Linked DNA regions of Homo sapiens: region 1 is linked to region 2. Evidence: promoter capture Hi-C in 16 types of primary human blood cells and fetal thymus (Javierre and others, 2016). All regions are on one chromosome and are shown on one strand. The core of a region is centred on a gene start or on the middle of the fragment in contact, and the rest is flanking DNA. Distances in the headings are between cores, read along the strand shown. Region 1 overlaps MYO1D (myosin ID). Region 2 holds the start of MYO1D (myosin ID).

Region 1 (3,340 bases), core at 162-2,661, 210 kb before region 2:
TCCTTTTGGGAAGCAATGAAATCAAACAAAATAAAAGAATTATTCAAATAAGATAAAGAGTAATTATACCAGAAAACCTAGACTATGAAAGCTATTGTGTATAAAGCTTACTTTAATTAAAAGTCAAAGCAGTAACAGAAATGGGGTATTTTATACACATTTTATTTAGCTAATAAGAGGCATACACATTTGTCAGGAAAGACATTTTCTTTTTCTTTTTTCTTTTTTTTCAGGTGGAGTCTCACTCTATCACCCAGGCTGGAGTTGCGGTGGTGTGATCTTGGCTCACTGCAATCTCCATTTCCTGGTTTTAGCGATTCTCTTGTCTCAACCTCCTGAGTAGCCCAGGGTTACAGGTGTGCACCATCATGCCTGGCTAAGTTTTGTCTTTTTTTAGTAGAGACGGGGTTTTGCCATGTAAGCCAGGCTGGTTTCGAATTCCTGACCTCAAGCAATCTGCCCTCATTGGCCTCCCAAAGTGCTGTGATTACAGGTGTGAGCCACTGTGCCTGGCTGAAAGACATTTTCCTAAACCAAGTAAACTCATAGAAAATATCATTGTATCAGTGTGAATTTTCTGATTTTGATAATTATACTATAGTTACAGAAGAGAATGCTCTTGTTTTTAGAAAATATACATGAAATATTTAGGGGTAAAGGGTATTACATGTGCAAATTACTCTCAAATAGTTCCAAAACCAATTGTATATATACACACAAATAGATCTATATACACAGATATACACATATACAGATTGAGAGAGAGAGAGAGAACCAAAGAACAAGCATTGATAGAGGCAGGAGACAGAGAAATCCTAGGCAGACATAGGTGGGTCCCTGGTGCGACCTTACCTTCAAGCCAAAAACAGCTTAAAGCCTGAAGTCCAAGCTACAAGTCAAATCCATGGATGAGACTGAGAACCTGTCTTCCCATTTGGTGTGCTTTCCTTTGATTGATCCCCACCTTTCACCTATTTTACATATACCCTTCCCTGTTTTTACACCATGTCCACTTTCGACTGGTGCCTTTGTTTTAACCATGTTTGCATACTCACAAACCAATTAGCATGCACTCCCTTATCCTGTGCCTATAAAAGCCCCAGACTCAGCCACACTGGAGCGATGATCTGACCCGCCTGTCCCCTCTCTACTGAGAGCTGTTTTGTTGCTCAATAAAATGTTCTGCCTTTACCACCCTTCAATTGTCAGCATGACCTCATTCTTCTTGGATGCAGGACAAGAGCTTAGGACCAGATATTCAGAAAGGCTGTAACACTGACCCTCTGCCTGTGTCAATGGAGAGCAGCCACCCCATAGAAGAGAAGCAGTGGTGGTCCTGAGCTGGCCCAGGGCCATGCCTGTCCCGGAGCTGCAGGCCAGAGTGGGGCAAAAGGCTGATGGAGCTGCTAACACATCCCTGTTTGTTGGGCTGCAGATGGCAGAGCTAAAAGAGCTAATAAGCATATTGTAACACTCCCTTTGGGGCTCTGGAGTCATAGGCACCCCTGCCTGGGCATCACTGCATTCCCCTGGGGGTAATATGCCTGGTTTGGTCATGGACCCTGCATGGAGCTTGCTTCTATGTTGGTGCTTGGAGCGGCCAGCCAGATCCCATACTCGCTCGCCCACGTGCTCCCTCCTGCCAGGGGCTGAGTGCAGTGGGCCAAGTAGACAGGGTGCCCGGGCTGCGAGTCTAGCAAAGGGGCCAAGAAAAATCCTGTGTCAATATGATAAAGCAAATATAGTTAAAATTTTAACATTTGGGCGCTGGGGCGAAAGGCATAAGAATTCTTTATATTATTCTTGCAACTTTTCTGTAAATCTAAAATTATTTCAAAATAAAACAACAGGTATCTTTAAGGGATAGTGGAGAACAACTGCACAATGTATTTTTAACAATTTTACATAAGCAAGAGTGGTCATTATACCTTTTTTAAAAATTTGAATTTTCTTCTAAGGAGTTTGTTGTACTTGTGCTTTCTGAATATTGGTGAGTATATATAAAAATTGAAAATGATGGCAATTTTATGAGTATGTAAATTAGTCTGTGCTAATTTAAAAAACTGGAAACATGTTTAATGGATGCTAAGTTAATTCATATGTTAACCTGCACTGAGTTATATATAAAGGCTGTGCCATGTCGGGCCATATTGGAGCCTGAGGCAAAAGGAAAAAGTTCAATAATATGGATCCCGTCTTTATTTAAAAGTTTGATCTTTTGTTCACCACAGATTTGTTCCATTAATTTCAGATTTTTAAAAATATTGCATGAACATATTATCTATCCTGACCACATTTTTGGTACCGCCTTAAATTTTACATTTGAGTCCTGGCCCTGCATAAGGAAACAAAAATTACAGAACAAACATGATGTGGTATTTGGCAGATTGGAGGAAGGGAAGGGAGTGAGTGCCAGTCATGTGCTGGGCTCTGTGCCAGGGGACACATGCTATCTCATTTTAAGTTTTCCAATAGTCCCAATAGGCAGATGTTTTTAGCATTTTACAAAGGAGGATGTTAAGGTTCAAAGAGAGTGATATACTTTGGATAACACAGTAAATGATAAAACTGTATCTTAGCTCTGTCTGGCTCCAAGAATTGATCATGCCATCTCCTAAATGTATCACACTTAAAGCAGTCTAATGGTATATAAAGCAATAATGCCTATTATTTAATTTTCCCTCTGAGAGACTTGGACTTGCTATAATAATTAACAGGAAGCTTGGTTTCAAACATAATCCAAACTACTACACTACTACATTCTTCATATATACGCAGATAATTCCCAATCATAAAGGTTTTTTTTCGTTTGTTTGTTTTTTTGAGATGGAGTCTTGCTCTGTCACCCAGGCTAGAGTGCAGTGGTGTGATCTCAGCTCACTGCCACCTCCAACTCCTGGGTTCAAGCGATTCTCCTGCCTCAGCCTCTTGAGTAGCTGGGATTATAGGCATGCACCACCACACCCAGCTAATTTTAATATTTTTAGTAGAAATGGGGTTTTGCCACGTTGGCCAGGCAGGTCTCCAACTCCTGACCTCAGGTGATCCACCTGCCTCAGCCTCCCAAAGTGCTTGGATTATAGCCAATCATAAAGTGTTGAATTGAGTGTGATCTCTAATGGCATCAGCACAGTTTTCATTGTGCTGATTGTTAATAGGAGTAGGTTTATAGTATTCCAATAATAATAAAGGGCAGAGATGTGGCCACTGAGAGGAAGTGGGTTTTGTACACTGCAGCTGTTGCACTTAGTAAAAGGCAGAGAGCATGGTTTGTTGCCAAACTATATACATATTGAAAACTTTTGGCTTCGACCATACTTTAAAGAAAAAAAAGTCTCTT
Region 2 (3,439 bases), core at 14-2,513:
AAAACTCAGCTATTTTGAAATTCCACTTACTTTAATGTTTAAGTCAAACTACTTTAAAACTGTTTACATATTACTCTATCAAGGGTGAAATAATCGCATGTAAAGGGCTTTCTAAAACAAATCCACATCTTGGAAGCCCATTTTGGGGCGTTGAGTTGTGACTACGTTCTCAAGGATGTTAATAACACAAGAGCTCCATCCACTAACTCCTTGAAAAAAACCAAAACCATGAACGTCTTGTCAAATTCAGACAGTTTATCTTGGCACTGGCAAGTACAGCAGTCTCTTCGATGTCTGGAAACGTGTCTAATTACGTTTAGAGAGTAACTAAAAAAATAGCCAGTGTCCCGGAACAGACAGCTCAGGGATCACTCCATAGCATCCTGAATGACAGGATGGAACTACGCCAGGAGGAAAAAAAAAAGAAGGGCGAAGAAAGAAAGAAAAGAAGCAAGTGTAAAGCCGGGATGAGACGCCAGCCTCTCTCCAAAATAATCCTCCAGTCCTCCTAGGGCCTTCGGGGCCACCGCAACTCTCGTTCAAGTTATTTCCCTTCAGTTTCCATGAGGTCACCGGCCCGCCCACATCCCTCACCTGGCGCGGGGAAGCGCGCCCTCCCGCGCGGCACACCCTCTGCACCTAAACCCCGGACAGCGCCCAGGGCTCCCCTCTCAGGGAAGCGCGGCCCTTGAGCTCGACACGCCCCCCGCACCCCAAAGCGGCCGCACCCCAGGGGCGTCCGCTCTCGGGAAAGCGCAGCCGCGGAGCTTGGCAGACCCCCGGACACCGCAGCCCGGCCGCGCCTCCATCCCTGGAGCTTGGGCGCTCCCGACACCCCGGATCCGGCCGCGCCCCGAGGCGCCCCCTCTCGGGAAAGCGCAGCCTCGCGCCCCTGCGCGCGGCCGCTCCGCCCTCACCTGAGCCTGAGGTTGGCCATGAACTCGGGCATGGAGACGGTGTCCATCAGCACGAAGTCTGCCTTGCCGAATTCCAGGCTCTCCTGCTCCGCCATGGCGCCAGCGCGGGGGCTCAGGTGGGCGCGCTCGGGCCTCCGGGGCCGCTCCGTGGGCCCGCGATGAGCTCGGGAGGGGCCGGGGCGAGGCCGCGCCGCGAGGCTACGGGGAGGGGGCGCGCACGCCGCTCGGCGGGTCCGGGCCGGACAGAGGCCGCCTCGCTGCTCCTCGGCGCCTTCTCGGCCGGCGCGGCTCCGAACGGGACGCACCCGACAGTTTCCGCTCCTCCCGCCGCGGCTGCCGGGCGCTGTAGGGGCCGGGACACCGAGACGGAGACGGCAGCGGCTGGTCCCGCCTCCAGCCTGGGGCTCGTCCCGGCTCCGCCCCGCCCGGGCCTCCCGGCTCCGCCCCTCCCGGCCCACTGAGGAGCCCGCCCCAGCCGCGGCCCTGGCCGCCGCCTCTTCACCTGGGCGGCGCGCACGCGCGGGTGGGCGGCGGGGACGCGCGCTGGGCCGGGCGGCGGCAGCTGGGTGGCAGCGCCCCCTGGGGACAGGCGCTGGGATCTCAGGCGGCCAAGAGGATGGCCGCCTGCCGCCCACACTTGGTAGCTGCCAACAAAGTTAGAAAAGTAGTTCGTGGAGCTTTTCGCGAGGACAATTCATTATGATTCTGTCACCCTGCTCCAAAACCCACTCCCGCCTCTCTACTCACACCCTGCCCATTCTTGAAGTGGTGGTTCAAGCACAGACTGAGAGGTAATAATAATGGCTAACATTTTTGGGGCACCAAAAATGCCCAGAGCTGTTCTCAGCGCCTTAGAGAACTTTTAAGAAACTTGCCATACGACTAGGAAGTGGAGCAGCTGCGGTTTCACGCAGGTCATTTGACTTAGGAGCCGCAGCGTTCAACCACGTCTGACTACCTCCATTCTTCAGTGGCCCATTTTCTCTTCCACTCATCCGAGCATGTCATCAGACATTACCTTATATGATTATTAAGTTTTTAATATATCTTTGTATCATCTCTCCAGGATTATTGCGGATGTCTTGAGCATGGGACCATTCTTTTTGCATCCACCAAATAACTATTGTACTACTTTGCATATATAAATATGAAATCCATACTGGTTCAGTGGAATGAAGTGAGTTGTAAGTAGTCTCCAATTTATTGATACATTGGTTGAGCTTGGAAAATTCTTTTTGAACTCAATGTATTTTCCCAAAGAAAATATACTACAAATGACTTTCTTTCTTTTTTTTTTTTTTTTCTTTTTCTGGAGACAAATTCTCCCTCTGTCACCCAGGCTGGAGTGCAGTGGTGCAATCACAGCTCACTGCAACCTCAAACTCCTGGGCTCAAGCAATCCTCCAGCCTCAGCCTCCTGAGCAGCTGGGACTACAGGTGTATGACACCATGCCCAGCTATTTTTTTTAAATAAATGACTTTCTAAGGTATCTACATTTATTCAGTCCTGTGTTTCTGTTAGGACATCTTCTATTACAAAATCTACGAGGAAATCTAGAGGCCTCCAAGGACCTGGCTGGGCTTCAACTCTGGCTGAGTTTGAGATGAGTAAACCAGACTGAAGGACCTTGCCCAAGGCCTGCTTCAGCTGCCAGCCACCCACACTTGCTAAGAGAAAGGAAAGGAGCTTTGTCACCTCCTGAGGGACTGCCTCTGCCATCAGAAAACCACCCCAATCCCTGGCACCAGCAGAGCTGGGTTGCATCTGACTACCGTTAGCAGCTGTCCTTCAGAAGGAGGAGATCCACCTGTCTCGATATCAGTGTCCTCATTTGTGGAATAAAAGCTCTGGAATAAGGTAGGACTGTCCTATGGTTGGGTCATTTGTGGAGGTGTCGGTCAGTGGCTAAGTAGGTTATTGCATAGGGTATGGTTGTATTCCTAATGTTTGTATTGGCATGTTTTAACATAAGCAGAACTGAACTTCAAGAAGGAAAGAAAGAAATCTCAAACTGTATGCACTTTGGAGCATCCAGGGACCACACCCCAAAACCTTTTGGTAAATTATATATGTGTGTTCCCTGAGCTCTGTAGGTGTTAAAAATTAGGGCAAAATCCCAGGTACCAGGAAAAGAAACATCACGGCTTGCAGATGATGAGAGAGTTGCAGAAATTGTACAGTGGTTAGGAGCTATGGTGGGATACAATGTGGTTTCCAAATGGCCAAAGTAAGAGATCCTCATTTTAATCAACATCTTATATAGGAACCCAACATATAAAACACATATACAACATATGCAAAGGGTATTTTATTAATTTCTTGTATAAGTCCAAATTAGTATAAAATTAGGCATTGATGCTCTCATGATGAACCCAAATCTGCTCAATGGGGCTCACTATTAGCCTCAGGATTCCAGTTTACTTTTGTATGTTGTTTTCATTGTACTGTGTCAAGCAAATTCTTGTTTGTATAACTAAGCAGTAATTTGTTACCCATACAACTTTACATTCAGCATTTCTAG

The links. The method cuts DNA at HindIII sites, captures the fragments that hold promoters and counts their contacts. A CHiCAGO score of 5 or more calls a contact.
Region 1: a contact is called between a fragment that was not itself captured here and the fragment with the promoter of MYO1D in region 2, in 4 of 17 cell types (monocytes, megakaryocytes, total CD8 T cells and 1 more). The highest score is 7.2, in monocytes.

The regions. Positions count from the first base shown.
Region 1 is chr17:32,669,681-32,673,020 of GRCh38, forward strand. All of the region lies in intron 16 of MYO1D (myosin ID), which reads right to left. Among named protein-coding and RNA genes, the nearest start is that of CDK5R1, 180 kb to the left of the region's middle. The HindIII fragment of the contact is 2,615 bases long and covers 105-2,719 here.
Region 2 is chr17:32,875,861-32,879,299 of GRCh38, forward strand. It overlaps MYO1D (myosin ID), which reads right to left and starts at 1,264. Exons shown (of 22, transcript NM_015194.3): 1 at 918-1,264. The coding sequence starts at 1,012. MYO1D-DT (MYO1D divergent transcript) reads left to right here and starts at 995. Exons shown (of 4, transcript NR_184086.1): 1 at 995-1,033; 2 at 1,984-2,101; 3 at 2,440-2,775. RefSeq lists silencers at 600-1,589, 796-983. The HindIII fragment of the contact is 7,647 bases long and covers 1-3,439 here.